Linked DNA regions of Homo sapiens: regions 1, 2, 3, 4, 6 and 7 are each linked to region 5. Evidence: promoter capture Hi-C in 16 types of primary human blood cells and fetal thymus (Javierre and others, 2016). All regions are on one chromosome and are shown on one strand. Each heading gives the region's core, a stretch centred on a gene start or on the middle of the fragment in contact. The rest is flanking DNA. Distances are from core to core; before and after follow the strand shown.

Region 1 (3,539 bases), core at 691-3,190, 150 kb before region 5:
AAATTAACAAACCTAAAAATTTGAAAAGCTCCCTATGGCTCTGATTGAAAGGGAGAATTCATGATATCTTCTGGTTCCTGGACTTTCCCCAGATTTATCTTTGTATGAATGCCTGCCGAAGTGTGCACCCTTTTACTTAGAACTGATTAGTATTTCACTTATTATTTAAAAAGTAATTCAACAGACATTTACTGAGCAGTTACTATGTGCTAGTCACTGTGATAAATGTTGGATTTATAGCAATAAACAAGATAGGCACCATCCTTGCCCTCATGAAGTTTACAGTTTGGTGGAAGAATTTTTCATACACATAACATATTATTATAAGCTGCTGCTATTATACATTATAATAGGAAAGAAAAAGAGTAAAAGACAAAAAATAAAAGAAAAAATTATTTTGAGGGAAACATTACAAAGGAAACATGGCTTGCAGACCCTCAGGATTAGAATTTCATGGCAGAAAGCTATCAGCTTCTTACCTGGGATACAATATTACTTTGAGTTCACCATAAAAGCTTAGAGCAACTATTACTGTTTATGCAGCACATTGTGTTTCTCTAATCATAAATAAGACAAGGTTACAGATTACAAACAGTTGTAATGCAACAAGTTTATTATAATAAGCTCTTCTCTTTTATTGACAAGACTTGCAGCACTTTATTAAAATGTATTTTCTCTGCAGTGGTCTAAGAGACCTGAGAATTACTCTCCTTTGTTTATAAATGATGACAGTGATTCATAGAGAGGTGAGATGATTTGCCTTAGATGGTTCGGGAGCCAGTGTGTTAAAAACTAAATATAGGACCTATTGGGATTGAGCTACCTTTTATGTGGTTAGAAATGGAAGTTTAAACTATGTGTCAGAGATACTAAGCATTTTATTTTTAAAAACAACGCGTATCTTTTTTCTTTAAGTGAATGTAGGAAAAACATGGTGATTCTTGATGAGATGGTAGATTTTCGGGGTGCTAAAAATCTAGACACACACACACATACGCACACGCACACTCACACATCCAAGAAGTCCAGTTTTAATTATATCTTTCTATAGTCAATGGAGGGATCTGGGACAGTGCAGATGTAAATCAAAGATTAATAATGAAAAGAGACAGAAGCAAAACATGATTATATTGGTCTCTTGCTTGAAATATTTCATTGCTTCAAAGTTTCAGTCCAAACCCCTTTGCTTTGAGGAGCCCCTTATGTCTGGGTCTTTGCATTTCTGTCTTCTCTGCCTCACCCTCTTCAATGCATTGTTCATCCAGTCATTCCCAACTACCTCCTGTGGCTTAAAGACACCAACCTTTCCGCTGCCTCCATGATTTATTAAGCTGCTATTCTGTCTGGAACAACTGTTCCCTACCTCTCCTGCTGCCTATTCATCTTTTAAAGCTTAGACTGGATAGCTCAGAGGCTTTCCGTAGCTATTTCTCACCTTTGACACTGAATCACCAAATCAGGGTTTTAGTTATTCTTTCTGTATGCTTGCATGCCATGCTGCTCACCTCCCAGTCACAGCAGAATCCCTCAGCATTGCAATTATTATTATGATAACTTGTCTTTCTTCTTCACTAGATTTGGGAGAGACTTGAGGGCACTTGAGACTTGAGGTAATAGCATTTCTTTTATCTTTTTACTCCTGGCATCAATATGATGCCTGACATAGGGCAAACACTCAGGAAATATGGACAAATGAATGAGTGAATGGACTAGATCTCTTGTTGACAATATCCTCTGTAGTGTCCCATAGACTCCATGGCTGCTAAGTTCTGTTCATTTAAGGTTGAGCTGTAAAAAGCCTATGGAATCCCGTGAGAAATTTCTCTCTCAAGACACTAACAGGTACATTGAGGACATTTTAAAACAAGTTTGTTAAAAAGCATTTGCTTCTCCCCTTCCTTGTCCTACTCTGTTTCTTGCATGTCTTCTTGTGGTTTTATTTCAATGCATTTTCAGATTTTGACTTGTGTCTTTATATATGTATTGTGTATAGATATACATACACACATATATTTATATGTGTTACATAAATGTATTGGATGTATTATATATATAATATATACTTGTTCTCTCTAGGCTTGGAAAAGAAAAATCTTCATGAGATAAAATTAAGTAGGTTGATAAAATTAAGTAACGAATTAAAGCATACGTAATCAGAGTTTTAGCTCTCAACCTGAGACACCTGAAAAGTATTGGCATTCTATTGATTACTGTGGTAGAACATCTGTGCTGAGTATGGTGGCAAATAAAGGTATGTCCCTGGTGCCTTGTTACTAGAGTTGACCACTTTGAGTTCTCTCTAAGAGAAAATGAAGTTGAAATAGGTACACCTTCAAAATGCCCAGATTTTAGAATTGAATACTTGCCAATTTTAATCTATGAACCAATGTACTCTTTTTCTATTATAATCCGATGTGGATTTTGTTAAAGAATCTTACATGTTTTATTTCTCTTGCATATTTTGGGTTTATTTCATAACTGTGCTCATTAAGCTTCTGGTTTCATTAGTATTGAAGGTTCTATGATGTGGTAGGAAAAATTGGGCTTTAGAGTCAGACATACAAGAGGCTGAATTCTGATTTTCTAAGTAATTAACTTTATGACTTTCAGAATGTTGAATAACGCTTAAAACTTCATTTTTTCTTATCCATTAGTGCTGTTTTAAGGACTAAATCAATAATTTACTGGTGAAGAGTAGATAAATAAATGTTGGTTCACACCAAAATTGCACTTGTCTGAGGAAGAAGAGAGAAGAGAAGGCAAACATGAAAGAGAACCTGTTAAAAGTTAGCAAGCCATGTTAGTAGTAGCAAGAATGTTAGTCATTCTGCCAATAGAGTCTTCTTTAAAAGATTAAAATAATCATCCTGTTTTTACCTTTTTAAAATGGAAGAAATATACCCAAAACTAACATAAACAAATGACACATCTTGCCAGAGAAATATAGTTTATTGGAAAACCCACCAAGAAATTTTCTTCTATGAAAATACCCAGTACAAGAAACAAGAGCCAGGAAGCAATATGATCAAGAACATGTAATCTGAGGTCTTAAAGATTGAAACAGTATTTTGCTAATAAAACTCATTCACCTGCCCACAGGAACCAAATGGTTTTTCAGCTAAATAACCATAAAAAATACTTTTCTTTTTTTCCCCCATTAAAACCAAAGGTAAGTTCTTCATATCTGGGTCATCTGGTCTACCTTAACATCTGGCAAACTACTGAGGCAAGTGAATACTGAAGGGACAGCTTCTGGATTCTTCGTTGTCGGGCACTGAGCAAAGTAGCCATCCATCAGCAGCCTCTTGGGAGGCAGGGCTCACAGCAGGGCTGAGTGAAGGTGGTGAGGTTGAGGGTCTCCAGGCCCGGAGTTGGCTGGCAGGAGTTGAGCAGGAAGCAGGTGGGCACGCAGGGCTGAGGAATGTGGCAGGGTGGGGGACAGTTGTCACAGCAGATGGGCTCCAGTAACCAAACTGTGTGTGGGCAGGTGCTGGGCAGGCAGACTCCACAGCGGCAGGATTTGTCGGAGGAGCAGATGG
Region 2 (3,509 bases), core at 234-2,733, 220 kb after region 5:
GAAATGTAAAATTTATTCTTTTAGAAATACGAAGTTACATTGGGCTACTTGAAAATTAATTATATTTTAATATGTACAAATGAGAAGGAGAGGCCAGGAGCAGTATCACTACATGCACACAGAGCAAGAAGATGGACTTTTTGCCAAAGAGGGATCCCAGAGGGGAATTAGAAAAGCAGAAAGACTGTCCAATAACAACCCCAGCCCATGGTTTTGGGCCAGCCTGTTAGAGCTTCCTAGAAGAGCAGAAGATAGGGCTTCCACAAACTGTTCCATAAAGGCAACTGTTGTCAATTTATCAATCCTCCAGCCTCAGGACATTGAGAGGAGAAATTGAAGGGGTAATTCAGGAAATAAGCCAACAAGTTTGGCCCTGTTCAATGGGGCTTCTGATAAGGGACAAGCAGGAGAGGGGCTGAAGAATGAGCCAGGTCAGCAGTAAGCTACGCTGAGCAAAAACAGATACAAACACCTCAAAATGGAACTCAGGAGGTAGTTCTACAAATCCTCTCCAGAGCCACCATGTTTCTCTTACACTCAGTCTTGGACTCCCAATGGGAATGGAGTCTTGGAGTCTTCAGGGACCAAGCCAAGTCAGAAAAATACAAAGTTCATCTATGCTATGTGTTTTTTTTTAACTTTTATTTTAAGTTGAGGGATACAAGTGCAGGTTTGTTACATAGATAAACTTGTGTCATGGGAGTTTGTTTTACAGATTATTTCATCACCCAGGTATTAAGCCTAGTACCCATTAGTTATTTTTCCTGATCCTCTCCCTCCTCCCACCCTCTACCCTCCAGAAGGCTCCAGTGTGTGTTGTTCCCCTCTATATGTCCACGTGTTCTCATCATTCAGCTCCCACGAGATCTATGCTATGTTTTTGACTACTCTAGACTATCAACTCAGTCTAGAATAGACAAGAGCATGACACAATCCAGGACGATGTAATTTAATGGTGCTAGTCTTCCTGAAAAAGCTGGATCCAGGGCCCACTCAGAGATGGAATGAAAACCTATATATGTGTCCTGCTCTGCAGATCAAGGGAGAGGGCAGATGCTAAAACCTTTTGACAGTACACAGAAGATAAAGCAAAGTCAGCTGAGTACAAATGTGTTGTGTTGAACTTTTGCATTACACTCACTATCACGTTGGTGATTTGAGACAGACATGAAAAAAACATGGAAATACAGCTTCTTCCCTCAGCCTCCCACAGACTCTGTTCTCTTTATAATCACCAGGAGTCTCCCCATTGCTTTAACCAGTAGATTTGTCTGATTCTCACCATCCTTGCCCTGGATGCTGTTGACAACTCTTTCATTAGAGCTCCAACTTCTTTTGACTTCTGTGTCCTTTAAGGTGCTTCTCCACTTCCCTCTCAAACTGCTTGCAACCAGATGTCATCTCTGTCCTCAAGATCTGGCAAAACCAAGGCTGAACCTCACATCAGGGACTTTGGAGAGCCCCAGCTGAAGTCTGTGGTTTCTATCAGTGGTCCTCAAGGTTCTTCTATTCCCTGCTAGCCTCCATTGGACAGTCTTAACAATTCCTATAGCTCTAATTATCATCTTTATTTACCCAGCTCTCCGACATCTCCCTCAAATCTAGTTATTCTTCTCCAGGTCTCTCCAATGGAAACTCATTGTTGTTTCATTTTCTCAGGCTGAAAATCTTCAGACCCATAGTAGGTGTTTGTGATGGTTAATTTAATGTATCAACTTGACTGGGCCAAGGGATGCCCAGATAGCTGGTAAAACATTATTTCTGGGTATGTGTGTAAAGGTGTTTCTAAAAGAGATCAGCATTTGAATCAGGAGAGTGAGTAAAGATCACCCTCACCAATGTGGGCAGGTGTCCTCCAATGTGGGTAGTCAAATAGAACCAAAAAGTAGAAGAAAGGCAAATTATTTCTCTCATTGACCGGTAAGGGAGAAGCAGGAGAGGGTCTGGAGAATAGGCCAGGTCAGTAGTAAGCTATGCTGAGCAAAGACAGACACGGACACCTCAAAACGGAACTCGGGATCTAGTTCCACAAACCCTCTCCAGAGCCATCACTGTTTCTCTTACACTCAGTCCTGCACTCCCAATGGGAATAGAGTTGAGCTGGGACATCCATCTTCTCCTGCCCTCTAACATCAATGCTCCCAGTTCTTGAGCCTTCAGTCTCAAACCAGGACTTACACCACCAGCCTTCCTGATTCTCAGTCCTTTGGGTTTGGATTGGAATTATACCACTGGCTTTCCTGGGCCTCCACCTTGAAGACAGCAGATTATGAAACTTCTCAGCCTCCATAATCATATAAGCTAATTCCTTATAATAAATCTCTTTCTATGTATCTATACATAGCCTACTGTTTCTGTTTCTCTGGATAACCCTAATACAGTGTGTGATCAGTACTAGTTTCCTTCCTTTTCTTTCCATTGTTCCTCTATCTCTACTCAGCTTCCATATTTAAGCCATGCCTCTAAAACCTACCCCTCTTTGGCCTCACTCTCCTCCACTTATCTCAGTCCTTATTGTCTCTCACCTCTTAATTGATCTTCCTTCTATTTCATCCAGCTTCTAGGACTCCTCACAACCCAACCTGTACACAGCTGCCAGATATATCATATGGCAAACTCCCTTACAAGAAAATCTCATGTATAATCATTCGGAGCACTTCCAAATATGGCCGTACCTAACTACCTTGCAGTTTCATCTCCTATAACCACACTTACCCTCTGTTCTAGGCTAGGGATTGGGTTGTCAATTTCTAAACACACCTCATAACTCCTCCAGGCAAAGTTCATGCTCAGGAAAACTTTCCCTCTTCTTTTTTTTTTTTGAGACAGAGTCTCACTCTATCATCCAGGCTGGAGTGCAGTGGCACGATCTTGGCTCACTGCAACCTCCGCCTCCTGGGTTCAAGCTATTCCCCTGCCTCAGCCTCCTGAGTAGCTGGGACTACAGGTGTGTGCCACCATGCCTGGCTAATTTTTTTTTTTTTTTTTTTTTGTATTTTCAATACAGATGGGGTTTCACCGTGTTAGCCAGGATGGTCTCAATCTCCTGACCTCGTGATCCACCTGCCTCAGCCTCCCAAAGTGCTGGGATTACAGGCGTGAGCCACTGCACCTGGCCAAAACTTTCCCTCTTCTATGGCCTAAACACACTCACCTGACCAGACATTTCCCAGCAAACTTTATTTCAGAATTATGCTAATATCATACAGTAATCATTGATTGAAGTTGAAACTATGGGAAGTATATAAAGTTTTAATAACCTTCTCATGAATTTTCATTAGTGTTACTCTTCCTTATTTATTCCACTTACAGTATTCCATGGTTTACATCGTCTTTAATTAGGTGATGATATTGCCTCTGCTGAAGGGCCTGCAGTCAACAAGACAGGCAGACAAAATTTATATCAACAGAACATTTGGGTTTTCAAGGCTTTGATTGAGTGCTCCCTCCTTCTTGGAGCCTCTTCTTTTCATTCTCTCACACATCTGAAATTCGTAATTCTTTATCTG
Region 3 (3,936 bases), core at 1,289-3,788, 220 kb before region 5:
AGGCTTCGTGAAGGAGGTGGTGTGGGATTCACGGTTTTCCTAGCCTTGACTCACCGTGCTGTACTGTGTCTGCAGGTCAATCTCCAGGGCCTGGAATGTGCGCTTCAGTTCGTGGATGTCACCTTGTCTGCTCTGCACAGTGGCTGGACTGGCTGCCTCCTGGGACATGGCTGCAGACTGTGGGACCAAGCAAGGCAAAGGCGTCAGCATTGGGACCTCATGGAAATGCAACCTTTGGGAAGTTTGTGCATCTTTCTTTTACCTGTTCTTTATACCAAGTGTCCAAGTCTCGATGCTTCTTCTTTATTATAAGCTCATATTCTTGTCTCATATCCTCCAGGACCTTAATCAGATCTTCCCTGGGACCTGTATCCACCTTCACATTGACATTGAAGTCACTTGGCACATGATGCTTCTCCATTTCCTATTTAATAACAGAGAAAGGAAATGAACCGGCTTTGACAATCAGAAGGCTGGATTGCCATGTTGATTGGCAGTGGTAAATAGATCTTTTAAACATTCCGATTATGTGGTTGCTCCCACTGTCACTGGTTTGGTTTCTCAAATATTACTTACTTGTTGGTGATAAAACATTGTATACTTTTTTCTCTAATAATTTTATAAAATAAAGAATATCTTTGAGACCAACCTGACCAGCATGGAGAAACCCTGTCTCTACTAAAAATACAAAAAATTAACTGGGTGTGGTTGTACACACCTTTAATCCCAGCTACTTGGGAGGCTGAGGCAGGAGAATCGCTTGAACCTGCGAGGTGGAGGCTGCAGTGAGCCGAGATTGCGCCACTGCACTCCAGCCTGGGTGACAGAGTGAGACCCTGTCTCCAAAAAAAAAAAAAAAAAAAAAAAGAATATCATAAGGCAGGTAATCAAATAGCCTCCATGATTACTGACTTGATCCGTGGTTGAAAATATTTCAGAAAGAATTATGCTTCCATAGTGTGCAAAGTCCTGTTCAGCAGATGTGGATTGGTGAAGTGACAACATAGTTAAGCAGCTGAACCTTACAGGCTATAGGCCAAAGCTTTTGGGAAGCAGTTCAAGAGGCAAACAGCAGAAAGAAGGTGTAGAGGCTTTCAAAATCTCATCAATGCCTTGTGACACTGTAGGGCTGACGCCCATAGGATTTCATGAAAACCAAGCAGCCACAGGAAAGGTTTAATTAACAATCATTGTCTAACCAGCTATTCAGAAACTGAGCTCTTTGATGTTGAGAAGCAATTTTGTTTTCCTAAAATGGGAACTGTTTTTCTATCATTTTATCAGAGTCTTGAGGACTTGTGATGGATGGTAACTCTAAAAGTCAGTTAAATGCTTCTGGAAATTAGGATTCTTTATTTTTGCCCCACATCACACTTATCTTGGTTGGTAGCAGACTCTCTTCATTATATTGTCCCCTAACTTGCTGAACATTGGGCCAGTGATGGAAGTCCAGTCTCACGCATTGATTCTTATAGTAACATTAACAAGCACATCTAGGTAAACATTGTGTATTAACAAAACTGTTGACCAATTCATCATTAATTATGATTGCATTTTGGTTGTTGTATTTGACATGTGACTAGCTAACCTTGAAATTAGAAACATTAGATATTTGTATGTTTTTCTAAAGACTATTTAGGGTGAAGGACAAGGGGATTGGCATCCAGGTGGTGGTTTCTTCTGTAGCTGTCGAATCAGCCTGAGATGTGCAGGCTAAGAGCTGTGCTTATTAGCAGGTGTTCCTGGGGAGTTGTACCTGCTCATGGTGCTTCTTCATGAGAATGAGCTCTTTCCTCATTCCTTCCACCTCCTGTTCTAGGTCTGTTGTGACAATGGTCAGGTTGTCTAAGGTCCTTCGGAGGCCCTCGACTTCAATTTCCAAGTCTTTCTTAAAGGAGTGTTCATTTTCATACCTTTGGTGAGAAGGAAGAGAAGAGTGCACTCATTGTTGGAAGGCCATGGTTTTTGAAAGGATTCATTTTCATTTAGAGGTGAATCTTTTACTTTTTAGGTTTAAAGAGAGCAAATGAATACATATAGGATGTCTTTTTTATGCCAGTTTCATGCTACACTTCTCCATGATGGTGACTCAATGTCAACTTTTAAATTGAGTAGGGAGAATAGGATAATAAACAGTCATATACCCATTATCTATATTTAGCAACCATGAATGTTTTGCCATATTTGCTTCATCTATTTCATTGCTGAAGTATTTTAAAGCAGATTATAGATGTGATGACATTTTAAGACTAAATACTTCAGGATGCATCTTTTAAGAAAAATATATTTTAAAATAAACAGGCCGGGCACGGTGGCTCACACCTGTAATCCCAGTACTTTGGGAGGCTGAGGCGGGCGGATCACGAGGCCAAGAGATTGAGACCATCCTGGCCAACATGGTGAAACCCTGTTGCTACTAAAAATGCAAAAATTAGCTGGGCATGGTGGTGTGCACCTATAGTCCCAGCTACTTGGGAGGCTGAGGCAGGAGAATCGCTTGAACCTGGAAGGCAGAGGTTGCAGTGAGCCGAGATCACGCCACTACACTACAGCCTGGCAACAGAGCAAGACTCCGTCTCAAAAATAAACAAATAAATAAATAAATAAATAAATAAATAAAATAAACATAACACTACACCTAAACATTAATAACAACCCTTTAATATCATCTAATTCTTGATTCATATTCAAACTTCCCCATACTATAATGTGCTTTATATCTGATTTGTTTAAACTAAGGTTCATTCAAGTAACACACAGTGCATTTGCCGTTGCTATGCCTTTTCATTATAAGATTTTAGATGCGGGTAATGGCAAGATGAGTTTTCCTTTTTTTTTTTTTTTTTGAGATGGAGTCTCACTCTGTTGCCAGGCTGGAGTGTTAGTGGCGTGATCTTGGCTCACTGCAACCTCCACCTCCTGGGTTCAAGTGATTCTCCTGCCTCAGCCTCCCGAGTAGCTGGGACTACAGGCGTGTGCCACCATGCCCAGCTAATTTTTGTATTTTTAGTAGAGATGGGGTTTCACCATGTTGGCCAGGATGGTCTCGATCTCTTGACCTCGTGATCCGCCCGCCTTGGCCTCCCAAAGTGCTGGGATTACAGGTGTGAGCCACCGCGCCCCGCCGAGTTTTCCTTTTGTAAAGCAAACAAACAAAAACCCGAACAACCCTGTGAAGAAGGAACTTACTTGAGGTTGAAGTCATCCACTGCCATCCTGGCATTGTCAATGAGAAGAATAATCTGAGCATTGGTCATCTTACCATCCACTATCTGTAAAACATGCACAAAAGCACAAAAGGTTATCTCACTTGGACACACCCACACATGACCGCTGCATGTCTGTCCTCTAGCTTCCTGAATATTTGACTTGTTAGTACAGACAACTTCTTGTTCTGGCAGTGGAACAATGAATAACCGAATCAGTAAATGCTTAGTGAGCACATACTAGGTGCAAAGCAGAATGATTTTAAAATAAGAATATGATCTGCAGTCAGTGTTACTGCCTTTTTTCTTTTTATGTTGAGTTTTGACAGGCTTGGATTGATGCAACTGCTGAAAGAATGATATAGGAAGGGGAAGGACAGTAATTGTTCAAAATGCCCTCTAACTTTTTAGGTTATGGACATGTCATAGCATTTTGCTTAATTAAGCTCATCCACAGCTGAAGATGTTAAAAGGACTTTAGGTTCTGATCCTTTTCTTATTGTATTAGGTTGGTGAAAAAGTGATTTTTGCCATTACTTTTAATTAGTTCAGCCCTCCAAAAATACAAAAATTATTATTTCAGGTGAACATAATTCTTACTTGTGATAGCAATCATGTTTCTAATCAGTGTTACTGAGCAACGCTAACACTAATATTCAATGTATTTTGTAATAGTCATCACAGAACACATTTTTTTTTTGCCCGAAGTGACTGTAACTTGAAGGTGTGT
Region 4 (3,822 bases), core at 247-2,746, 200 kb after region 5:
AACTCTTTGGCAAGCTCTGGCTCTCCTTGGTGAAATGGAAAAGCATAGCTCTTGCCCTGTGTCTTTTGCTAGGTCACATTTCCAAGTGCCAAATTCCAAATTCATGGTTCTCAGAAAGAGGAATAGATCCTTTCTGGGACAGTTCCTGATGGCCATGTTTCCTGATATGATGGGCTTTTTTCATGTCCATGATGACGTCAATCAACCAAATAATAGATATCCACTATGACAATTTCATCCAGGGCGATGTAATAGACACTGGGAGGGGTGGAAAATAGGACTCAATGCTATGGTCAGAAGAAGTTCTTACTTGTTAAGAAACTGCACAAGCCCAAGGTAGTGTGGACACTTTTCACAAACTAGATCCTTTTTACAAACATGATCCTCAAACATGCAGAACTTAGATGTCCATTATTCCTCACCAGAACTCTTAAAGGTAAACTGTATAATTCCCATTTTATAGATGAGAACACCAAGGCATAGAGGGTGAGGATAATAAGTTGTGGACCTAGGATTCCAAAGCAGATCACTTTTCTTTTCATCACAACACTTGGCTTAAATATAAATGGCTTACTTCCTTCCCTTCTTCAGACAGGCCGTCCCTTTCTCCTCTCCAAGCTCTCTTTTTACCTTGAGCATGACACTGTCATGACTTATGTGCTTGTCTCTCTGTCTCTATTTGAGGTCCCTGAAGGCAAGGGCAGGGTCTAGTTTGTCTTTGAATCCCCAGCTCTAGGCACCTGGTAGGCACTGTTGAATGGGTGTGGGTAGAGTGATGAAGGGATGAACAGGAAATAATAATCTGAGGCAGAAGTTGACAAGTGATAACTGAGTGGTTTACACACTGGGGAGGGCGAGCAGCTCCAGGATTGGAGGCTCTTAGGAATGGATGAATGGATTTGTGCTGGGATAGGGAGGCTTCTAAGAAGCAGAGGGGAGAAAAGTAGGAAGTGCAGGTGAGGAGAATAATGTGCACACAGGAATGGGGTGGGAAAGCCCAAGGCATGGTTGAAGGACCAGGGTAAGTCTAGGCAGCAGGAAGGGGAGAGTTGTGAAGGGAAGTGCTAGAAATTAAAGCTTTATGGGGGATTGTATGGGGACCCTATGGTAGGGGGTCTCGATGGTGAAGTGGAGCAGCTTGGACTTCCCCAGAAGCTGTAGAGCCAGTATAAGCTTTTGAACCTAAGTGTGGTGTGACAAAAGGTGTTTTAGGAAATGTTTTAGCAAATATTTATCTGTTTTTGAAAAATGAAGGAAAGATTGGAGGCAAAGAGTTCAGCAAAGAGACTATTGCAACAGTCCATGCAAGACTAGAATTTATGGCAGGGATGATGATACAGATAAGGTTTAGTACAAGTGAGAGAGTTAGAGAACTGGGCCAAGGGAGAGTACAAAGAGAAGAGCAACAAGGAGCTGAGGACCAAACTTTGGAGAATTTCCCAATCAGAGATCAGGAGAAGGAAAAAGAATCTGTGATAAATGGAGAAATGGTGAGAAAAAAATGATAAAAACAAGTTCATGGCATCCCAGAAGGGCAGGAAGGAGGGTGCTTCCAAGAGGAGGTGATGTTAGAAGTGCCAAGTGCAGCAAAGGGGCCGCACATGATCAGGACCATGGAGAGGGTATTGGCTGCCTTGACCAGAAATTTACCAGGACCTTTCCAGGGTCACACAGGTATGCCTGCTGTACGCAGCGCCTGTGCACATTCTTAAAGTAATGCCCACAGTGAACTTCGGTAAACCAAGACTTCAAACACACAGAATTGAGATGTTCATTACTTAGAGAAGTTCTGCTGCAATAAATTTATATATCTGATTATTAAGCTTGGAGCTTTGATCTTACCAATACAGACTTTTATACAATAATTGGAGTGGGCTTTACGCAGATGCCAGACTTGTTTGAACTTGATGATTCGTAATAGTTTATTATTTAGGAACAATTATCCAAGAAGCATGAGTAATCTGAACTGACCGTGCATATGACACCACTTCTGTTTTGTCACAAGATGTAAGATGAGCCTTATTTGATATCCTAAAGAGGCAATGAGGAAAAAATTCAAGTATGGGCCTGAGGAGGCATACATTGGCCAGAAAGAGGAGGGGCTTCCTATGTCCTTGCTAGCAGAGGATAAAGCAGACAACAGATTCCAAGCCTCCCAGCTACAGCTACCAATCCAAGCAGCTTCCAAGCCTCCCAGCTACAGCTACAGACCAAAAACCAGATGGCTTTGCATTTGGCTCTTCTCTTCCTCCCTCTTACCTCCTAACATAGATCCTAAATATGAAAATGGTTAAAAGAGAGAGGGAAAATCTTGGAACAAGATATTGGGGATCCTAATGGTCAACTCATCCAAACCGTTCGTTTTACGAAGGGGAAACTGAGGCTCAGAATGGAGAAATGCCTTGCTTAGTATCATCTAGCTAGGACCCAGATCTTCTGATTCCCACTGCATTATCAGCCCAATCACCATTCTACTGAAATGTTGAAGAATTTCACAAACAATCTGATCTGTTATTACCTAAGGACAGAAATCAAGGGCAGTGAGAAAAACATCTTGTTAACCATAGATATGCTGTGTTGAAGAAGAATTATGAGTCAATGTGTAAATAAAGATAGAATTCAGCAATAGTACAGTTTCTTGTTAACTCTCTGATTTCAATTATTTCTAAGTTGATGATACAATTATATACCAACAATTTGGAGTAATTTAAACATAATTATATCCCATCAGATATAGATTATATCCCATCTGTTTGGAGCAACTTAGAACAATTGGTCAAACAATGGTGACCCTACTCGACAGCAATATGCTTATCCAGAGTAAGGTACACAAAAGATAGTCACAACAAAATTAAACTATTATTAAAATGGGGACAATTGAGAGATTAAAGAAAACACACCACAATGACACTGGATGCTATTAAATGACAGGATTATGAATGTTTTTTTTCTTCTCTCCAAATTCTTTGAAAATATATGTTACTTCTGCACAATAAACAAAATAAAATTTACATTTAAAATTTCAGAAGGAAATTCTTGCAAATCTTCTAGAGGAACAATGAGTTATTAAAAAAAAAAAGCCTAGGAGGCTCCTGTTCCAATATAATTACTACATTACACTTGAGCCTGTTCTAGAAATAAAGTCTTTGTTGTGATCGGCATTCATGCCCTTGTGATATCTGCTGACTTTGTCCATTCCAAAGGTGAGCTACTAAGAAGGAATGAAGGGAAATCAAGCTACCTATAGCTCATGAATTGACTGGCATGAGGTCTGAGCTTCGGGTGAAGGAGAAGACAAGGAGGAGTAACCCTTGGAGAAACATTCTGCCATTGACTGCTAGCCCATGGTCCAAGATTGGCTGCTAGAACCACCTCATATTGACCCGCATCCATAGACTATACTTCCCACATACACATAAGGGATAATTAAATTTCTTTTCTGGAAATACTATCTAAGTCAGATAAAGCCTACAGGCTTAGCATGCTGGAGTTACCAAGGACCTAACTGGTCATTTCACTCAACTCTTTCATTTTAAAAATGGGATAACTTTGACCCAAAAGGGGAAGTGACTTGCCCAAACTTGCAGAGAGCTTGTGAAAGAGTCTAAACTGAAAGAGGATAAATTAGACTAAAGAAATAGGATAAGGCTTTTAGTCTTTATGAGAGAGTTCAGGCGGAGACCACCGAACGATGCAAGTCTCTCTAAACACTAAACCCTTAGTAAAAAGGTGAACTAGAAAAATAAAGGATGCTTGTTGTTAAAGGAAAACTTTAAAAAGCTGAACTATCTATCTCTTAGTGGGCTCTAATTTTAAAATTAT
Region 5 (3,845 bases), core at 13-2,512:
CGCTCGGCCAGAAACTGTATCCATTAAGAGCCTATACTGCATTATGTACCAGGCCCTGTGGTGAGTATATTACATGGGTTATGTCTCTTAACATTTAAAGAATGTAATGCATTATCTCTATTCACAGAGAAAGAAAACTGAGGCCTGAGGAGGTTAAAAAACTTGCCCCATGCCACGCAACAAATACCTAGGGGAGTCGTGATTCCAATGCAGGGAACATGAATCAAGAGCCCAGGCTCTTAAACATGCTCTCCTGCATTTGAAGAGAGATGGCCCTTGATGTGAACTGACAGGTAAAGACACACACACACACACACACACACGCACAATGAGATCACTAACAAATCAGAAGATTTCAATATTAGGGAAGTGGCTGTTTATTAATACATGAAAACAATATTATATGAGATCATCACAGTTAGTGTCCCCTTCGAATGAAGACACTGCTCATCTAAAAATAACTGCATTGGGGCCTGGCATAACATATTTTAATGAATGTGATTGTCTGTCATTTCCTAGAAGAGCTGAATGTCCACTCTGAATGCCACATGAGACAAACTGGCAGGGAAGTGTTCATTTTTCCAGTGACTGGCTGGCTACAGTGCATTTTAAATGACTAATGAAGACATTCATAGTATGACAAATATCACAAGGAGACATTAGCAGCAAGAGGAGGCACAGCACAAGGGGCGGGGGCAGGTGGAGATGACACAGGTTGGGCGATAGCAAGTGGTGTGGCAGGAGACTCGGCCACAGACTGGACGCACGCAGCAGCAGGGGCGGCAGCAGCTGGATTCACAGCAAGAGGGGTGGCAGCAGCTGGAGATGCAGCAGCTGGGACGGCAGCAAGTGGGCTGGCAGCACACAGACTGGCAGCACTGGGGTCTGCAGCAGCTGGACACACAGCAGCTGGGGCAGCAGCAGGTGGTCCTGCAGCAGGTGGTCCTGCAGCAGGTGGTCTGGCAGCAGCAGGGGCGGCAGCAGCTGGATTCACAGCAATAGGGGCGGCAGCAGCTGGAGATGCAGCAGCTAGGGTGGCAGCAGGTGGGCTGGTAGCACACAGACTGGCAGCACTGGGGCTTGCAGCAGCTGGGGCGGCAGCAGGTGGTCCTGCAGCAGGTGGTCTGGCAGCAGCTGGGGCGGCAGCAGTTCTCCAGGCCACAGCTCTGCTCAGAGCTGACAGAGCCACAACAGGAGCTGACCATGGTGTCAGAGGGTGGAGGTTCTGGGTGGATTTCTAGAAGAATGAGGTTCTCAAGTTTGGAAGTGTCCTTGGGCCACAGCCTCTTATATACTGCCCAGCTGTCTTGTTGGTACTACATTTTCCTTGTTTTTGTTTACTTAATAACTAAGTGATTATCAGATTACACAATAATGTTTGCCCATTTAATGGTTTAAACTTGTTGAAAACAAAATTTTCTTGTCCGGATGTAATAAGATCTATCATGTCTGCCTTCTCTCATGATTCACACCTCGGTAGCATCTTCTAGACCACGTTCTCTTCCTCTTCCTCCACAGAGGGCTGTTCATGTGATTCCCTGCATTTGGAATTGCATTTCTTACTCTCGCTTCAGGTACCCTCTACCAAAATGGGATTTGGTCAGTCACACTTCCAGTTATGCATTCCCTCTAGTGACCAATAGCGAGGAAAACCCATCTGCTCAGTGTGGCATTCCTAGTCTGTGGGTCATTATTAAGCAATAAGCAAAGGGATAGCAATACCTGCATGTGGCCTTGGTGACCTCTACACTATTGAAATGGGTTTCCCTGAATGTTTCAAATTTTGGGTCATATTCCATATCCTTAAATTTTTATACTTGGTGTTACTAATGGGTCAGTTTCTTAAATTGATACTTTGCTCTCCTATATTTTGTGTCATGTCTCTCCAGTTAATCTATTAGATTCCGGAAGACATAGTCCCATTTTTATTCCATAACTCATTGTTTTTTTTAAATGCCTCTAACTGTCTGTTAACATAATGCAGGTGTGTGTTTTCACTTTTTAAAAAAGAAATTTGAGATAATTGTAGATTTACATACAGCTGTAACAAACAGTCCCAGGAGAGGCTGTCTGTACTTCACCCAGGCTCCCTAACACTGTGTAACACCTGTATAATACTTTTAAGAATCTATCTACCCCCACTACTGTGTCTTGCATGATGTGCTTAATATAGAAAGAACTCAAGCTCAGTGAAATTAAAAACAATTAGTTATTTTTCAGATTGACGTATAATATTGTATTTACCACATACAACATAATATTTTGAAGTATATATACATTGTGGAAGGATTAAATCTAGCTAATAAATGCATTACCTCTCATACCTATCATTTTTTTGTGGTGAGAACGCTTAATATCCATTCTTAGAATTTTTCAAGAATACAGTATGTACAATATATCATCATTAACTATAGTCACTATGCTATACAGTAGACCTCTTGAACTGATTCTTCCTGTCTAGCTACAATTATATGTCTTTTGACCAGTATCTCCTCAAGCCCCTGACTCCCTAGCCACCCCTAGCCTCTGATTATCTTCATTCTCTGCTCTACTTCTATGATATCAACTTTTTTGAGTGCGATCATGTGAGTGAGATCATGTGCTATCTGTCTTTCTATGACTGATTTACTTCACTTAGCATAATTTCCTTGAGATGTATCCATGTTGTCACAAATGACAGAACTTCCGTCTTTTTACGGCCAAATAGTATTGCACTGAGTATATACTGCATTTTCTTTATCCCCTTACTCATTGGTGGACACTTGCACTGTGTGCATATCTTGGCAATTGTGAATAGTGCTGCAATAAATCTGGACATGCAGTTATTTCTTCAACATACTAAGTTCATTTCCTGTAGATATATAAGGTACCCAGAAGTGGATTGCTGGATAATACGGTAATTCCAGTTTTAATTTTTTGAGGAACCCTTATATTGTTTTCCATAATGGCTGAACTAATTTATATTCCCACCAACAGTGTACGAGGGAGTTTTTTTCACATCCTTGCCAATACTTGTCATCTTTTGTCTTTTTGATGATAACCATTCTAACAGGAATAAGGTGATATCTCAATGTGGTTTCGATTTGTATTTCCCTAATGATTAGTAATGTTGAGTACTTTTTCACAAACCTGTTAGCCATTTGTATGTCTTCTTTTGAGAAATGTCTAGTCAGGTCTTTTGCCCATTTTTAATCAGGTTTTTGTTTTCTTGCTTGTGAGCTGTTTGAGCTCCTTTTGTATTTTGGATGTTAACCCCTTATGAGATATATACTTTATAAATATTTTCTCCCATTCTGTAGGTTATCTCTTGACTCTTTTTGTGGTTTCCTTTGCTGTGTGGAAGCTTTTTAGTTTGATGTAATCTCAGTCATCCAATTTTTCTTTCGTCGCCTGTGCTTTTGAGGTCATATTCAAAAAGTCATTGCCGAGACCAATGTCATGAATCTTTCCCCCATGCTTTCTTCCAAAAATTTCATAGCCTCTGATCTTACATTCAAGCCATTAACCCATTTGAACTGATTTTTGCATACTGTAAGAAATAAGGGACTAATTTCATTCTTCTGCATGTGGATACCCAGTTTTCCTAACATAATTTATTGAAGAAACTGTCCTTCCCCCATTCTTGGCATCTTTGTTGAAAATCAATTGGTTATAAATGAGTGACTTTATTTCTGGTCTCTCTATTCCATTCCATTGGTCTGTGTGTCTGTTTTTATGTCAGAATGATGGTATTTTGGTTACTGCAGTGTTGTGGTTTATTTTGAAGTCAGGGAGTGTGGTGCTTCTAGCTATATTCTTAGTGTCCAAGATCACTTTGGTTTTTTGTGGTTCTATACAAATTTTAG
Region 6 (3,698 bases), core at 340-2,839, 150 kb after region 5:
TGAAAATTTTGGAAGCCAGTGAACTGTTTGCCCTTACTCTCGTCCAGCTGGAGAATCTATAATCCTAGACACTAGCTACCCTTGCAGACCAATGCAGACCCACTGACTTAGATGACTCAGGCTCATTGTGTTCAAATGTGACCTGAAGGAAATCTACATAGAGGTGTGTGTAGGAATGAAAGCACTCCAGGAGTCTTATTTATTATACTTAACCAGTCACATTTTTATTAGCAGCTGGCAGCAACGAGGTCTTCTGAAAGACCAGGCAGCATCAAGAAAGAGAAACAAGAGAGGGTTTGCTAAAGTGAAATGAATTGACATCATCAGGAAATGCAAGCAGCAGTGTGGTAGTCCATGGTTGCTGAAAGGTTATTCTCGGTTAAGAAGGATCTCTTCGTGCCTGGACAAGTTCCCTGGTCAGCACCTGGAGAGAATGTGAAGGTGGAATCAGGGTAAAGTTAGAAAGCAGGCAGCATTTGTACTCGGTGGGAGGCAGGCACCCAGGGATGGCTATGCATTTATAGACAGCCGCAGACCCTCAGAGGAGGTGTGAAGAGGGCTCCATTAACAAAGTGTTGCCTTGCAGAAGCTGGACTCACAGCTGGGTTGGCATGAAGTCGGCAAGCAATTGGAGCCACTACTGGGTGATGTGCCTAAACCAGTCACACAGCAAGCTGATTTGCAGCCACTCTGGTTATAGGAAGGGGGTCCATCACAAGTTGGTTGGCCAGAAATCACAGTGTCACAAGAAGCTGGTTTGCAACAGTTCTTTGTGGAACAAGGGGCCTGGCAGTTAGCCACTGGCTGGTAGATGAAGCATGTGGAAGGAACCAGTTGGCAGTGAGGTGGCTGGCAATGGGAAGGCACACAGCAAGTAGTATTGCAAGAACTGAACACACAAGTCGATGGCTGGCAGGGAACAGGCATGTAGAGGGCTGATTGGCAAGGCTTGAAAATATAGCAGATGGGTTGATAATAAGTTGATTTACAGGGCTGGCCTTCACCACTGACGGGTTGACATGAACTTCCTTGGCACCAAGTTGGTTGGCATGGACTAGCTGTACAGATGGTTGGTAGGCAAGAAGTTTCCGGACAGGAGGTCACTTCAGAGCAGGATGGCTGGCAGGATCCAGCATCACAGCAGACTGATTGGCCACAAGCTGCCTGACATGATCCAGACATGCAGACAGATTCCTGGCAGGAGCTTTGCTGGCAGGGACTGGCATCGCAGCACTTTTCCTGACAACAAGTAGATTCCGAGCAGGATGGCTGACATGAGCTAACCAGACAAGGAGACTGACCAGTGCCAGACTGATAGCAGGCTGCGTGGGAGCACATAGGTTGGCAAACAAAACCCACACAAGACGTTGCTGGAAGGCGGGTAGGTTGACACGAAGCAGGATCACAGCCACTTGGGGCACCAATGGATGGCTGACAGCTTTCTTGGCATGTGACCAGTTGCCACATTCTGCTGTGGCAGGAACTAGGCAAACAGAGAGCATGTCGAAATCCACCTTTAACTGGGTATGTGGTGATGGTGGGCACAGCTGGAATGGCTGTGGTGTTTCCAGGACAACAGCCGTCTGCCATGGTGCTGGTGCTGACCTTGCTGGGAAGTTGCAAGCTCAGTATACCTGCATTGGAAAGACATCCGATACAGAGGGGCTTTTATAGTCCTTCACTAGGGGTGTTGGCACGCCATGCAGCATCTTTCCTTGTTATTGTTTTTACTCATTTGCATGCAAACATCTGATTAGCAGGCTTCAGGAGCCTGGGAGATGTTTCAACTTTGAAAAGGTGTCTGTTGAGTCGGGAGTTTTCTGCGCTGCATTTGGATTCGTTGACACTGCTCCTGCTCTTGGATGAGCTGTCTCTTTTACAGGTTGCTCTCCAGCCTCACTGAAGCAGGCCTTTCCTGGCACTAACCTTTCATCAGGAGGCCTCTGCCAAGCCAGAGTGGCCCTGCTGTTCCTCCAGGAATGCAGCTTTGCACCATTCAATCAGAAATGAAGCCTTGACCCAGTTTGGGGAGAGGATGTCAAGACGGGAAATGGAAAATTAGTCCAAGGAACCCAGGGACACTTAAGTGCCTCTACCTCTTTTTAAAACCTTCCCATTTATCATTCCTGAAACTTGTTTACTAGTACTATTACTAATAATAACAATAGAAATGGCTTTCATTTATTGCATAGTTACTAGATCAAGTCCTTGGCTGCATTTTTCACTGGATCCTCACAATGACTTCAGTAAGTATAATTGTCATCACTATGTTAGAAGTGGCAAAACTAAAAAAAAGTAATAAATAAAGAAGAAACCAGGTTTAAAACAAAGTTAAGATTAAAATATAAAACTTCATTGGCCCTTTTAGGAAGCTTAAAATCTCCCCCAAATTGGTTCCTCTCAAGATTTTTTTAGAACAGAAAAGAAGAAAACAGAAGTGGCAAAACTCATAGAGTTTAAATCATGTTCCCAAAATTATGCAAATGAAAAGGGGTAGAAACAAAATTCAAACCTAGCTTTGTCTGACCACCAAACCCCTGATCTTAACCACCTATTAGACCCCCTGACTTTGGGGAGGCAGGGAGAAGGCGACACTGATATAGTGGCTGCAGGCTGACACCCCTATGGCAACAGACTGGCTCGTGAGCAGGTTGCCCAGGCCCCATCCTGGGGATCCTCCGCCCACTCCAGTGACTGTAATCAGCAGCTAGACCACACTGGTGTGAGTACTTACCTCTACTTATCAATACACTCAAACACAGTCTTTTAATTTTGGAAATTTTTTAAACTACCAAATATTTCATCAGGAAGTATCAAACCCACCCTAGGGCATCAATAGCATATGAATTCTATACAAATAAAAACACGCCAGCAGTGATAATAAAAAAAATCACTGTAAAGTGGTGTTAATGTTAAACCAATCCCTTCCAAGAGGAATTCGTGAGGGACTTTCTTGGCCCTTCTGCTTTTCCTCCGGGCTTGTCCTGGCTCCGCATCACCAACCAGGTCCGGTGTTCTACACCAGCCAACGTTCTGGCCGGTTCACGCTGGAGGCACATGACGGAGTGGAAAGATCACGGTGTGGGGAGCCAGATGGGGCTGGCCTTGATTTCTGGCTCTGCCACTAACTCATTCTGTTGAATATGTTAGCTAATTACCTAAGTCTTCAAAGTATGGCGATTTCATCAACTGCGTTGTCATGTCTCAGGTTAGTTTTTTGTGGGTGTTTGTTTGCTTTGGTTGCTTCACAAATTATTGAAAATACTGAAAACGCTGAAGGGTACTTTGCAAACCCCCAGCTACAAAATGCCTTCTCCTTGGCACCCTCTTCACCTCCATTTTAAAAAGAAGAGAAACATTTTTGATCAGAACAATGTCTGGAAAACCTTCTCCCCTGCCATTGAAATGCCTTTTTCCCCACAGTTGGTTTCTATGTCACACCATGGATCACTTCTTTTGCCCTCCTTCTTGTCTGTATTCATGTTGGCATCTTTCAATCTGCAGGAATCCATGCACTGTGTTTTATTGCTGAATATTTACCCCCAAAGCTCTTCATCTTCCCAGAGGATGTATTTAATACTTTCAGTCTTACCAAATATGTCAATCAAACTGGGAACATGAGCATGTTTGAAAAATCACATCAACTTCAGTCCAATATCCTATACCACTTTTATAGTTTTAAAGCAATCCATTCTACA
Region 7 (3,759 bases), core at 1,112-3,611, 170 kb before region 5:
ATCAGCCTCTTTGTGACTCTGGGGGATTTCATGAGTAACTGTGGAACTTGCCTGCTGTCCTCGCTGTCCAGCAGGCCCCAGTACGTGTTGATCTCACCCTCCAGCCGGGCCTTCACGTCCAGGAGCACCTGGTACTCCTGGTTCTGTCGCTCCAGGTCGCAGCGGATCTCGGCCAGCTGGTTCTCCAGGTTATCGATCAGACACTGAATTTGGGCCAGCTGGGAGCTGTACTGGGCCTCGGTTTCTGCCACGGTGCATTCCAGAGATTCTGTCTGCGGGAGGAAACATTGTCCAAAGGACCATGAAGTGCAGTCTCTCGGGCCAGAGTGCCTACTTTCAAATTCCTGCTTACCCTTTTCTAGCTATGTGACCACTGGCAAATTATTTAGCTTCTGTGAGTCTCAGTTTTATTCTCTGTATAGTGGAGAATACAAAGTATCTGTTTCATTAGACGGTTGTGAAGATTAAGAGTTAATATGCGGGCTGGGCGCGGTGGCTCAGGCCTGTAATCCCAGCACTTTGGGAGGCCGAGGCGGGCGGATCACAAGGTCAGAAGATCGAGACCATCCTGGCTAACACGGTGAAACCCCGTCTCTACTAAAAATATAAAAAATTAGCTGGGTACGGTGGTGGACGCCTGTAGTCCCAGCTACTCAGGAGAATGGTGTGAACCCGGGAGGCAAAGCTTGCAGTAAGTCAAGATCATGCCATTGCACTCCAGCCTGGGCGACAGAGGGAGACTCCGTCCAAAAAAAAAAAAAAAGAGTTAATGTGCGTAAAGCATTTAGAACAGTGCCAGCCATACTGCCACTGTTCTACGTGTCAACTATCACTACCACCACTATGACTACAGCAATACATGACATATTTGTGAAGCTTAAGGACTATCCACAACATATGAGAGGAAAGATTGAGTTTGGGCTCTTGGCAGGGAGGGGTAGTATAGTGCTATTAAGAGAAGAGGCTCTGGATACCAGAGGCTGGGACTGGCATATGTGTGGTAAGGGGATGAAGAGAGGTTGGTTAATGGGTGCAAACATACAGTTAGACAGAAAGAATATGTTTTCATGTTGGACAGCAGAGAAGTGTGACTACAGTTAACAACAATACACTGTGCATTTCAAAATAGCTAGATGGGAGGACTTGAAATGCTCCCAACACATAGAAATGATAAATACTTGAGGTGATGGATGCTCTAAATATCCTGACTTGATCATTACACATTCTATGCATGTAACAAAATATCACATCTACGTAAAAAAAATTTACGCATATTATATATCAATAAAAATAAATTTAAAAAGAGAGAGAGAAGAGACTCTGGGATTCAACTGGCTGAACTCAGCTTCCAAGTTTGCCTCTTAGAATTGCATCCTTTGCAAGTTACTTAATCTGAGTCTCAGTTTTCCTTATCTGTGTCATGGGATAAAGGTATCTATCCGGTAAAGTTACTGTGAGCCTTAAATCAGCATAGTGCCTCTCACAGGATGAATGCTCAGCTATTGTTCTTCTAGGTGTTCTCCGCAGGGCCTAATGACATGCACACAGTGGTGCTTGACCAGAACTGGTTCATGTCATCTTGAACGCATGGTGTTCCTGTTGCTTGAGTGGGGGGTGGTGCAGTGAAGGATAAGGTTGAAGTGTAGATCCTGGGAAACTGTAGGATGAAATGTTTGAAAATGATTCTTTGTTTTAGATATAACAGTGAGCCTGGAAAACTGGCCTGAATCAAATGAGAATTAAAACCTGCCAGAATGCTTAAGCGACCATGGCCCGGAGGTTTCTCTCCAGCTCTGCTTCTCCCTCCCTGTCTCTGGAGGCTGCTGCAGCATCAGACTCAAGCCCAGGAGTGAAGGTAAGGCATCTTAGAGGACAAGCTGTGGACCTGTCACTTCTGCTTCTATTAATAGCTGGGTAAACGGCAGTACTCGGGAAAGGCAAGGAAATGTGATCCTCGGATATGGAAGAGGGCTTAACATCTCAGGGCCTGACTTATCAGTGACACAACGGACACTGCCTTTGCCTCACGCACCAGGCTTTGCTGTGCTTGGAGCTCAATTTCCAGAGCACTGGCTGTGCGTTTCAGTTCCAAGATCTCCATCTGGCAGCCCTGCAGCTGCTCCGCGCTGGACAGTTGCTGCTGATTCAGCTCTTCTGTCTGAAACACAGACACCATTAGAGAATTCAAAAAAGGCAGAAGTCTGTAAGCCTGACATTTTTTCAATCTGGGTACTGACCTGAACAGCCAACCATTCTTCAGCTTCTCTGCGATTGTTGGCAAGCACCGTTTCACACTGACAGCGCATCTCATCCAGGACCCTGTTGAGGTCAAGGGTGGGGGCAGTGTCCAGCTCCACACTGAGGCGGTCGCCAAGCTGTTCACGAAGCAAGTTGACTTCCTGAAAGTGGGATGGTGTAAAGAATGTCACAGAATGGTGGGGAAAAATCCATTTGACATCCAATGGCATTCTACTTCTGTTTTTTGGAGCAGTGGGTAAAAGTGTGAGATTTTGATTCAGATTGCCTGGGCTGAATCTCTTTTCACCACTTAGAAGGGCCTCAGTTTCTTCGTCTGTAAAATGGACATAATAATTGGACATTTTTCCAGAAAGTTATTGTGAGATCTAGAAGAGTCAATCTACACATAATTAACTTATAAAAGTTAATTATGACACATAGTAAGGTGTCAATAAATGTTAGCTATGATTGTCATCAACAAACGTTCAAAGAGCAAATGTACTTTGTTACATCATTCAGCTTTTCATTTTCTAGCTTTATCAATATATCAGTGGCTGTATATTTTATGATTTTTAGAAGTTTATAAATGCGGAATATTTAAAAACACTGGTCCAGATAGTGCACAGTCTTTATCCCTTTTTTGAAATGGACTTCACAGTCTGTTCCTCAGCCTGATTTTCATACCCTGTGGACTGGAGCTAGGGGTGGCATAAAGCCTCCAAAGGAAGCCATTTGTGAAGTTACCTCCTCCACAAAGGCAAGGGCAGGAGAAGAGTTTGATTCCTTCCTCTGGCGCTGTCTAGGGGTTATTTCACACCTTAAATCAGAGACACACTGGAATGATCAGGTTGAATAGTAATAATGCCTCGAGTAGTTTTTGTTTGTTTGTTTGTTTGTTTGTTTTTTGAGATGGAGTCTCGCCCTGTCACCCAGGCTGGAGTGCAGTGGTAAGATCTCGGCTCACTGCAACCTCCGCCTCCTGAGTTCAAGTGATTCTCCTGCCTCAGCCTCCCGAGTAGCTAGGACTACAGGCGCCTGCCACCATGCCCAGCTAATTTTTGTATTTTTAGTAGAGATGAGGTTTCATCATATTGGTCAGGCTGGTCTCGAACTCCTGACCTTGTGATCCTCCTGCCTCAGCCTCCCAAAGTGCTTGGATTACAGGTGTGAGCCACCATGCCTGGCCCTGCCTCAAGTAGTTTTATTCCAGCTTAAACAACATCTGCCCAAATTCGATTTACAAACATCAACAGATCATCTGTCAATGTAAGTACGTTACTCTCGGAGTCCTTCAGCGGAGTTGCCACTTTCCTTACCTCTTCATGGTTTTTCTTAAGGCAAAGGAGATCTTCCTTCAGAGACTCCACATGGGCCTCCAGATCAGATTTGCACAGGGTCAGTTCCTCCAGGATCCCATGCAGGCTGCTGATGTCAGCCTCTAACAGCTGGCGAAGGGACAGTTCACTCTCGTACCTTTCACAGCAAAAGAGAAATCCAACGCTTACTTTGCTGAACGCTGTG

Evidence for each region. Contacts are between HindIII fragments. The CHiCAGO score rates a contact against its expected background, and 5 or more counts as called.
Region 1: a contact is called between a fragment that was not itself captured here and the fragment with the promoter of KRTAP4-5 in region 5, in 1 of 17 cell types (endothelial precursors). The highest score is 5.2, in endothelial precursors.
Region 2: a contact is called between a fragment that was not itself captured here and the fragment with the promoter of KRTAP4-5 in region 5, in 4 of 17 cell types (non-activated CD4 T cells, naive CD4 T cells, total CD4 T cells and 1 more). The highest score is 6.2, in non-activated CD4 T cells.
Region 3: a fragment that was not itself captured here is called in contact with the fragment with the promoter of KRTAP4-5 in region 5 in 1 of 17 cell types (endothelial precursors); the score reaches 5.1 in endothelial precursors.
Region 4: a contact is called between a fragment that was not itself captured here and the fragment with the promoter of KRTAP4-5 in region 5, in 1 of 17 cell types (total CD8 T cells). The highest score is 6.8, in total CD8 T cells.
Region 6: a contact is called between the fragment with the promoter of KRTAP29-1 here and the fragment with the promoter of KRTAP4-5 in region 5, in 5 of 17 cell types (naive CD8 T cells, total CD8 T cells, naive CD4 T cells and 2 more). The highest score is 6.3, in naive CD8 T cells.
Region 7: a fragment that was not itself captured here is called in contact with the fragment with the promoter of KRTAP4-5 in region 5 in 1 of 17 cell types (endothelial precursors); the score reaches 6.3 in endothelial precursors.

The regions. Positions count from the first base shown.
Region 1 is chr17:40,996,263-40,999,801 of GRCh38, forward strand. KRTAP3-2 (keratin associated protein 3-2) reads right to left here. Exons shown (of 1, transcript NM_031959.3): 1 at 2,931-3,539. The coding sequence ends at 3,295. Among named protein-coding and RNA genes, the nearest start is that of KRTAP3-2, 1.9 kb to the right of the region's middle. The HindIII fragment of the contact is 1,100 bases long and covers 1,391-2,490 here.
Region 2 is chr17:41,372,906-41,376,414 of GRCh38, forward strand. No RefSeq gene overlaps it. Among named protein-coding and RNA genes, the nearest start is that of KRT33B, 4.8 kb to the left of the region's middle. The HindIII fragment of the contact is 4,497 bases long and covers 1-3,509 here.
Region 3 is chr17:40,928,184-40,932,119 of GRCh38, forward strand. It overlaps KRT23 (keratin 23), which reads right to left. Exons shown (of 9, transcript NM_015515.5): 3 at 3,190-3,272; 4 at 1,757-1,913; 5 at 263-424; 6 at 55-177. LOC107985072 (a long non-coding RNA gene) reads left to right here and starts at 420. Exons shown (of 4, transcript XR_001752886.2): 1 at 420-499. The HindIII fragment of the contact is 2,996 bases long and covers 1,041-3,936 here.
Region 4 is chr17:41,351,168-41,354,989 of GRCh38, forward strand. LOC105371778 (a long non-coding RNA gene) reads left to right here and starts at 330. Exons shown (of 2, transcript XR_001753056.1): 1 at 330-436; 2 at 1,255-2,631. The HindIII fragment of the contact is 650 bases long and covers 1,172-1,821 here.
Region 5 is chr17:41,148,563-41,152,407 of GRCh38, forward strand. KRTAP4-5 (keratin associated protein 4-5) reads right to left here and starts at 1,263. Exons shown (of 1, transcript NM_033188.4): 1 at 362-1,263. The coding sequence starts at 1,205. The coding sequence ends at 660. The HindIII fragment of the contact is 5,677 bases long and covers 1-3,341 here.
Region 6 is chr17:41,301,262-41,304,959 of GRCh38, forward strand. It overlaps KRTAP29-1 (keratin associated like protein 29-1), which reads right to left and starts at 1,590. Exons shown (of 1, transcript NM_001257309.1): 1 at 565-1,590. The coding sequence starts at 1,590. The coding sequence ends at 565. The HindIII fragment of the contact is 6,603 bases long and covers 1-2,370 here.
Region 7 is chr17:40,978,753-40,982,511 of GRCh38, forward strand. KRT40 (keratin 40) reads right to left here. Exons shown (of 7, transcript NM_001389244.1): 3 at 3,555-3,711; 4 at 2,238-2,399; 5 at 2,033-2,158; 6 at 52-272. LOC107985072 (a long non-coding RNA gene) reads left to right here. Exons shown (of 4, transcript XR_001752886.2): 3 at 1,697-1,855; 4 at 3,576-3,759. Among named protein-coding and RNA genes, the nearest start is that of KRT40, 3.7 kb to the right of the region's middle. RefSeq lists an enhancer at 1,254-1,855. The HindIII fragment of the contact is 2,975 bases long and covers 875-3,759 here.